3 separate regions of the Homo sapiens genome follow, and all the other regions are linked to region 1. The links are contacts of gene promoters, found by promoter capture Hi-C in human tissues and cell types (Jung and others, 2019). All regions are on one chromosome and are shown on one strand. Each heading gives the region's core, a stretch centred on a gene start or on the middle of the fragment in contact. The rest is flanking DNA. Distances are from core to core; before and after follow the strand shown. Region 1 holds the start of SKA2 (spindle and kinetochore associated complex subunit 2). Region 2 overlaps CLTC (clathrin heavy chain). Region 3 holds the start of LOC107985048 (a long non-coding RNA gene).

Region 1 (2,776 bases), core at 184-2,683:
TTCAAAGCTGTAGCAGCAACGGAAATGACTGTTGCATTTCATTGCCATCTTCCTAAAACACATTTTTATGGAAGTCTCTTGCGCTCCTCCACAAATAGCCTTCAATTACTTAATTTCCATTAGCAGTCCAATTGATTCTTCTTGAACACCCATAGCACTATTTCTGGGTACTTGCTTTTTTTAAATTTTATGTTTTATGCTTTTTTTTTTTTAAGCATTGCTGTTTTTGTTCTGTCTTGTTTTTCCAAAGAGACTGCAGCTCCCTAAAGTCTCATCCCGCACAGTATTAGGCACTCAGTAAACAGGACACGCATTTAAAATTGACACTCTAACAGCATGCCAGACAATATCGAGTAACATAGTAATATTCCCAGTCAAGAAATGTACCAACTTAAACTTTAATGTGCATAGAAATCACTCAGGGAAATCTTGTTAAAATGTATATTCTGATTTAGTAAATTTGGGTGGAGTCCGATAATTTGCATTTGTAACAAGCAAACAAGAGATGCGGATGCCGCTGATCTGTGGACTTGCATTGAGCAGCAAATATGTAAAGAAATGTTCAAAAGGAAGGCAGATGCTTTGCTCCAAAACGTATCTTGCGAAGTGTTAATTAAATAGAAGTATGGTTAAGATGAAGCCAGGCCGAGCACTTCTTCCCCAGCCCCAAACCTCCCCTTCCTCCTTTCCATTTCCCCTTCGTGTCCAGCCAAAGTCCCCACCTCCCTAAACCATAAAAACACAAGCAGCAACAGGCCCAGCTACTCAAGACGCGAGCTCAGATAACAAAGAAATAATCGTTCCTGCACTTACTAGTCTAAGAGCCGGGGGAGTCGATGGAGTCCGGGCTGTGGCCTCTCCCACGCCATAAAGAAAAATTCAAAATTAAATCCTTGTCAGGGAGAGGCCAATCGTAGACACGGTCTCTGCACGATTCGCTCTTCGGATGGTGTAGGAGCACAGCCCGGCTTGTGATTGGCTGAGATAGCACAGAGCTCCAGCCAATCAGAGCTGAGGCGCTTCTGGTATGAATAAGGAGAAGGCGGGAGAGAAGGGGAAGGAAAGCCGGAGGGGAAAGAAGGTGTGTTACGTCCCCTCTGCTGTCGGTGGAAGCTCTGGTGTGATTGGTTGGCTCTTCTTCCAATTGCACCAATCTCAAGCTCTTCTCTGCAGAGCCCTAACTACAAAATTGAAAGTAGAGAGGAGGGGGCAGCCAATGGAAAAAAAAATTTGCACAGCAGCCAATCCTCCTGCGGCGTTTTGTGCCTTTGCCCAACAGGAAAATGTGTCTCATGCAGAGGGGCGTTACCCAGTCTCCAATGGGCGGGAGCCGGTGGAACGGAGGAGCCAATGAGTGCGAGATGTTGAGTGACAGCTGTCCAATGGAGGCCCTCCGTGCTAGTACGGCTTGCGGCTTAAGCGCCGCCGCGGTCTGCGGAATGTCAACTATTCAACATGGAGGCGGAGGTCGATAAGCTGGAACTGATGGTGAGTGCAAAGTGAAGGAGATCTACTGGGTAGTTTATTTTTCCCCCATGGCCTCGGAGGTGGGGCACAATTTGGAGTCGCCGGAAACTCCGGGCGGCGGAGGCTGGACCAGAGTCGAGTTCCCTCCTCCTGCACCAAAGGGAGCCGCCACCGTCTGGTGTCTAAACCGCCTCGGGTAAGGGGTTACATCCGGGAAACTCGTCAGGGAAATGGCGGGAGATGCTGAGGGTGCGGGGCCTTTGGAATTCCTTGTTCCTTGCCCTCACCTTTACACCCCTTACGAAACTGCGCCGGGTGCAGACCGCATTCTGTGTTTGTACCAAAAAAGATGTGAATGGAACGGTCCCTAAGCGTCCCAAGAAGGGAGAGGTGGTTCACACTCCAAGAAAGGGGAACGGAGGGTGGGGTGGGGAATAAACTGACGGGGGCGAGGAGAAATCCCTGTAGGGCCAACCCGCTCACGTTCTAAAAGGCGGGCCGAGAAAGTCTGAGAAAGGATGCTAGACTTGTATGCACAACTTCCTAACGGCCAAGGAACCCGTTTCTGTTTGATCCGGAGGTGGCAAACCGTGGGTGAGGGAAGAGGTGTGAGCGAAGGGGATCGTAACCACGAGCTCCGCTCCCGGAGCGCGGGCGGGATTGAGACAGGAAAGGCATCCTGCTCTGGAGTTGTGCACTTTCATTCATCTGTGAAAGTAGAAAACGGGGGCGAAGAATTGGAAAGCACTCCCGTTGTTGCTGGCGTGTTTGGCCTGCTCGGGGGGCGCCCAGCTGGGGGGCTGTCCTAGTTTTCTTTAAGGATCCGTCCCTCACTTGTTCTCTTTATTCCCTCCCTCCCATCCTTAGATTACCAGCTTGATCGCCCGCGCTTTTTTCCTCTTAGTGTCCTTGTTCTGTCTTCAGCCCTTTTCGTTCAGCATTATCTTTTTTTTCTTTTCTTTTCTTTTTTTTTTTTTTTCCCAGGTTGGGCTGCTTTCCTTAAAAACCTGGACTTTGGAGGAAGCGCCTGCCACTGAGCTCCTGTCTTTTTTTGTTTGTTTGCTTGTCTGTTAAATACGATTGGCCGGGCGCGGTGGCTCACGCCTGTAATCCCGGCACTTTGGGAGGCCGAGGCGGGCGGATCAAGAGGTCAAGACATTGAGACTACCCTGGCCAACATGGTGAAACTCCGTCTATACTAAAAATAAAAAAATTAGCCGGGTGTGATGGCACGCGCCTGTAGTCCCAGCTACTCGGGAGGCTGAGGCAGGAGGATCGCTTCAACCTGGGAGACGGAGGTTGCAGTGAG
Region 2 (2,700 bases), core at 153-2,652, 520 kb before region 1:
AGCAGAACTAAGTAGGGTAGAACTTTCCCCAGTGATGGCCACTAAGAACATTATTTTCAAGGTTAGAATTAAATGGCTCCTGAGACTAGGGGATATTAGTTACTCGATTATAAATAATACGAAGACTAGTCTATGAAGTGTCCCAAGAACACCAAGGTAAATCTTAATTTTAATATAGCCATCCTAAATTAAAAAATAAAAATGTCTGTAAAGCTGCAGATTTTCCACATTAAGGAAGGTTTTCTAAAATAAGTATTGTTTAACACCATGGAAACTCTGCACTAATAGCTGTTACGATCATTTCTAGAATCTGTCTGCATCTATCTATGTAAAAATTTTAGTATGTCATGTTTTTCCTACTAAATGAACATCAAAAAAGTATGGATCAACACACTAGTCATCTTACCTATACACATATAAAATATTTTTGTTATCTTTATCACTTACAGATAATCTAGGATTACTTATTCTGTTTTCATGCATAGGTGTTAAAATTTCTGTGGCAAATAATTCCACTTTTGTGGAATACTAACTGTATTCCAAAAGAAAATTTCAGATTTAAAAAGTAGACAAAATCTAGGTTATTTTCTTGATTGCTAAAATTTGCACATGATTTTATACATGGTAGAAATGTTAACATTTTAATAATATTAAATTACTTACTAAATGTTTAATTAACCTCCAGTTATAATGGTTAAAGATTTTAAGATCAAACTTGAAATTATATTAGCATAGTCAGAGGTTTTCTTCAACATAAATTTGTTCATTTAACAAATATTTATGAGTACCCAAGTATCAGACTCTGTTCTTAGGTACTGGAGATACAGCAGGGAACAAAGGAAGCAGAGTCCATTCTCTCAAGGAACTTACATTCTAGTGGGAGGAGACGTTTCATAGTGGTGTTATAAAGAAAAACAAGCAAAATGGGGTAGGAATGGGTTCTATTTTACACAAGGCAACCTGAGACATCCTCTCTTCTGACATTCAATCAGAAACCCAAAGAAGGTAAAGGAGAAAGAAGGTCATGAGAGAATAGTAGTACAGGGCACAAGCAAAGGCCCTTCGGCAGGACAAGGTTAGGGGAGTTCCAGGAATAGCTAGCAGGCCAGTGTGGTTGAAGCTAAACCAGGAAAGAAAGAAAAAAAGAAAGGTAGAAAATAAGATCAAAGGTAGCAAGGAGCAGATCATGGGTCTGATGAACAGTTATATGCTTTCTACAGAGAGCTTACAGTTCTACAAACTTAGGGCATGAGTCAAATGATGCTAATGACACAATTTTATCCTGCTCACAGGGTACCTTAAAGGAGAAGTTATGTTCTACCAATCTCTTTATTCCTGGTGGCTAACACACAATTGGCACTTGAATATTCAAGATCAGAGTCAGGGTATTTTTCTTATGACACAGGGTTTACTTACAACACCAGTAAATTATCATGTAGCTAGTACCTCTAAAATTAAGTTTAATAACAGTGATAAGAGGCATCATAACCCTGTACTGGAGGTTAACAAGGAATCTAATAAGTTCACTCTCAACACTGGCATCAGAGGATGAATGTGATAGTTGCATCTTAGTATTGAGCTCCCATGTCAAATTATGTAGACGTAAGACCCTAAATTCACCTCTAATCCTGGCTGGAAGTAAATTCCTTCAAAGAGTCAAGTACAAATTGATATCAAAGAGAAATAAATACTTGCCTGACAGAAATCCCATTTAGGCTGACTCCACCTTTTTCCAAGGCTTATCACTTATCAGTAATAGTTACTGCCTAAACATCTATAGTATACAAGGTACTTGATAAATAAACATAGCTTATGGTTGAAGAAACTGAGGCTGAGGCATATTCATTAACTTGCCTGAGGTAACAGCTAGACATATACTGAATGAACAAACAATGGCTAAGTAGAATTTGAAACAGGTCTGACTGACTCAAAAGCTCATAATCCACATCCACACCCCTACTATATCAGGCTTGTACCCAGTTCACAAGTGTGGAGGGGAAATCTTCATCTGATTAGATCCCATGGGCTATGCAAACCTAAGGCAGTACCATCCTAGTACCCAGAGGATTGTTTTTCATTTCTTTACTAGAGGATTTTTTTTAAAGCTCAAAAATGTGATAATTAAATAATAGCTAATTTCATTTTGCTTTCCATATATATATAACTCAAATATTAAAATCCAAAGCTAAAGAAGTTACAATTTAAGCATAGAAGCTGAGGGCTCAATAAAAACAAAAAGAAATCATTTAAGAATCTGGTAGTATTAACACAGGAACAGAAAACCAAATACTGCATGTTCTCACTAGCAAGTGGGAGATAAATGATGAGAACACATGGACACAGAGAGGAACAACAGACACTGGGGCCTACTGAAGGGTGGAGGATGGGAGGAGGGAGAGGATCAGAAAAAATAACTAATGGGTTGTAGGCTTAATACCTGGATGACGAAACAATCTGTACAACAAACCCCCATGACACAGTTTACCTATATAACAAACCTGCCCACGCACCCCTGAACTTAAAAGCTTAAAAAGAAAAACAAAAAAAAAAACCCAACACCCCCTGCCCCCAAAAGAATCTAGTAGTAGTTTTTTTTGTTGTTGTTTTTTTTAAAGGAAATAGTAATGATACTCAAAGAAGGAAGTGAATCAGTAGTATGGGTACACTAGTCAAGCACAGAGTATCAAATCTTTCTCATTT
Region 3 (2,724 bases), core at 185-2,684, 580 kb after region 1:
AGGCTGAGGGAGGCCCCATTTTTGTGCTTCCTTGATTGCTAAGGCAGGAAAAATGGAACACGGTGAGTTGTGTACTGGCTGTTAAAGTTTCTGCCCAGAAGTGACTCATCACTTTCACTCATATTTTATTGGTTAAAACAAGTTCTGTGGTCATTTATGTAAATCAAGAGGGCCAAAAAGTCCTGTTGTATTATTTAGAAGGAGAAACAAACATTTTTGGTAACAGAATTAATAAAGTCACAACTCAACCCCAAATCCATGATCTTTCATTTATATCACTGGTCTCAGAGGATTTTTGCAAGGATTAAAAATGTGAAGGACAGGCACAGTGGCTCACACCTGTAATCTTAGCACTTTGGGAGGCCGAGGCAGGCAGATCACCTGAGGTCAGGAGTTTGAGATCAGCCTGACCAACATGGAGAAACCCCGTCTCTACTAAAAATACAGAAAATTAGCCGGGCGTGGTGGCGCATGCCTGTAATGCCAGCTACTTGGGAGGCTGAGGCAGGAGAATCACTTGAACCCAGGAGGCGAAGGTTGCAGTGAGCTGAGATCGCGCCATTGCACTCCAGCCTGGGCAACAAGAGTGAGACTCCATCTCAAAAAAAAAAAAAAAAAAGTGAAAACATGGAAGGATTTAGCATGGGATCTGCCTTATAGTTAATGTTCAGTGAGTACTGACATTGAATCTTAAATATTGGTTAAAGTAGAAACAGGTCAAGTTTGTCTTCACTATTCTGGCCATTTTTTGGTACAAGCCTCTCTGGCCTCTCCTGGTACACTATGCCAGGAAGCTTCTTACAGGTGCTGAGGCCTCATGGCTGTGCCCCTTTGCTCCAATATCTTACCTCCCAGCAAAGTTCCTGTGCTCTGTTGATTTTCTCATGAATTTGCTCACAGTCGTATAGAGTCTTTAACTGATTTCAGAGCTGACCCTTAGAGAGTATTTATTCAACTCTGGAGAGAAAAATGAGGCCCAGACATGTCAGAGAACTCGCAGCTAGTAGTACAGCCAGAACCAGAACTCACACTTTTTTTTTTTTTTTTTTTTTTTTTTGGAGATGGAGTCTCATTCTTGCTGCCCAGGCTGGAGTGCAATGGCGCGATCTCAGCTCACTGCAACCTCCGCCTCCTGGGTTCAAGCAATTCCTGTCTCAGCCTCCCGAGTAGCTGGAACTACAGGCACGTGCTACCAAGCCCAGCTAATTTTTGTATTTTTAGTAGAGACGGGGTTTCACCATGTTGGCCAGGATGGTCTCGATCTGTTGACCTCGTGACCCACCCGCTTTGGCCTCCCAAAGTGCTGGGATTACAGACGTGAGCCAACGTGCCTGGCACAGAACTCACACTTTCTACTCCTGAGCTTAGTGCCCTTTCCTCTGCGTCTCACACTGGGCTGATCAACTGGTTCCTTGTAGCAAGTAGTTAGTGTACTTTGTTCACAGAGGGGATTTATGTAATTTTCTTACTTTCTTTCTCACAGTACTGAAGATGAACAAGAAGAGACATCAAAGGAGTCACCAAAGGAACTGAAAGAGAAAGACATGTATGATCACCAAAGAGAATGCCTAGGGATGCTTGTGTAAAGTCTTGGTTTTAAGGGAATAGTATATTCTTGTTTGTAAGGATCTTTCCATTTTTACGTGTAGACTTAATGTGAGTATGCTGCTTCTTTCACCAAAAAGTTGTTATCAAATTGGTGATATGATTTATAACTAATAGCAGCTTACACTCAAGGAAATGTAGTGATGATAATAATAATCATAATAATAATAAGTTTACGCTTAAGGTAGATTAAATCTGTTTTCCACGTAAATATCCTGGAAATATGGAATATTTCATCTATGGAAATAGTTTATTTTTAGCTGCTGATATGTTTAAAGTTACAGTATCTAGCAAAGAAAGTCTCTATGGTGCCAGGTGTGGTGGCTCATGCCTGTAATCCCAGCACTTTGGGAGGCTGAGGTGGGCGGATCACCTGAGATCAGGAGTTCGTGACCAGCCTGGCCAACATGGTAAAATCCCATCTCTACTAAAAATACTAAAATTAGCCAGGCATGGTGGCACACGCTTGTAGTCCCAGCTACCCAGGAGGCTGAGGCAGGAGAATCACTTGAACCCGGGAGGCGGAGGTTGCAGTGAGCCGAGATCATGCCATTGCACTCCATCCTGGGTGACAAGAGCAAAACTCTGTCCCTGCCGCCAAAAAAAAGTCTCTTTGGTAATAAAGTTACAATCTCTTTTAAATATGTTCTCTAATATTCTCTTTAAGATACATAAGATGTTCTAAGATATTCTCTAATTCTGGCCTATTGCCACATACAAATTTTGTTAAGATTATACTTAAAAAGTACCTCTCAGGAATATATTGTTTGATTTTTCTAGTCATCTTCTCATCATTACTGTGTGCTCTTAATTCTTTAGATCATTGACGGATATTCAAGACCTGTCTAGTATCTCCTATGAACCAGACAGCTCTTTTAAGGAAGCTTCATGCAAAACACCCAAAATAAACCATGCACCTACCAGTGTCAGCACTCCACTCAGCCCAGGTAATCACAGGGAAGAGAAGTGTTTGGGGAGAAGGACTTACAGCCCCAGCCCATTGTCTCTGGGAAGCCAAGCCGTGGTATCAGAGCTGGTGGCTGTGTTGTCATAGTGCAAAGGTTTTTCTTTAGGGCCAAAACTGGGTAATCCCATTGTAGGCCAGGGGGCGGGGTGATG

The links. Contacts are between HindIII fragments. The study calls those that stand out against the background at their distance.
Region 2: a contact is called between a fragment that was not itself captured here and the fragment with the promoter of SKA2 in region 1, in 1 of the 25 tissues and cell types used here (adrenal gland).
Region 3: a contact is called between a fragment that was not itself captured here and the fragment with the promoter of SKA2 in region 1, in 1 of the 25 tissues and cell types used here (spleen).

What each region holds. Positions count from the first base shown.
Region 1 is chr17:59,153,843-59,156,618 of GRCh38, reverse strand. It overlaps SKA2 (spindle and kinetochore associated complex subunit 2), which reads left to right and starts at 1,433. Exons shown (of 4, transcript NM_182620.4): 1 at 1,433-1,488. The coding sequence starts at 1,456. It overlaps PRR11 (proline rich 11), which reads right to left and starts at 873. Exons shown (of 10, transcript NM_018304.4): 1 at 814-873. RefSeq lists enhancers at 696-745, 1,406-1,645. The HindIII fragment of the contact is 17,595 bases long and covers 1-2,776 here.
Region 2 is chr17:59,670,129-59,672,828 of GRCh38, reverse strand. All of the region lies in intron 14 of CLTC (clathrin heavy chain), which reads right to left. Among named protein-coding and RNA genes, the nearest start is that of PTRH2, 36 kb to the left of the region's middle. The HindIII fragment of the contact is 7,956 bases long and covers 1-2,700 here.
Region 3 is chr17:58,573,009-58,575,732 of GRCh38, reverse strand. It overlaps TEX14 (testis expressed 14, intercellular bridge forming factor), which reads left to right. Exons shown (of 32, transcript NM_031272.5): 22 at 1,484-1,546; 23 at 2,425-2,552. LOC107985048 (a long non-coding RNA gene) reads right to left here and starts at 1,960. Exons shown (of 3, transcript XR_001752952.2): 1 at 1,470-1,960; 2 at 849-957. The HindIII fragment of the contact is 5,135 bases long and covers 1-2,724 here.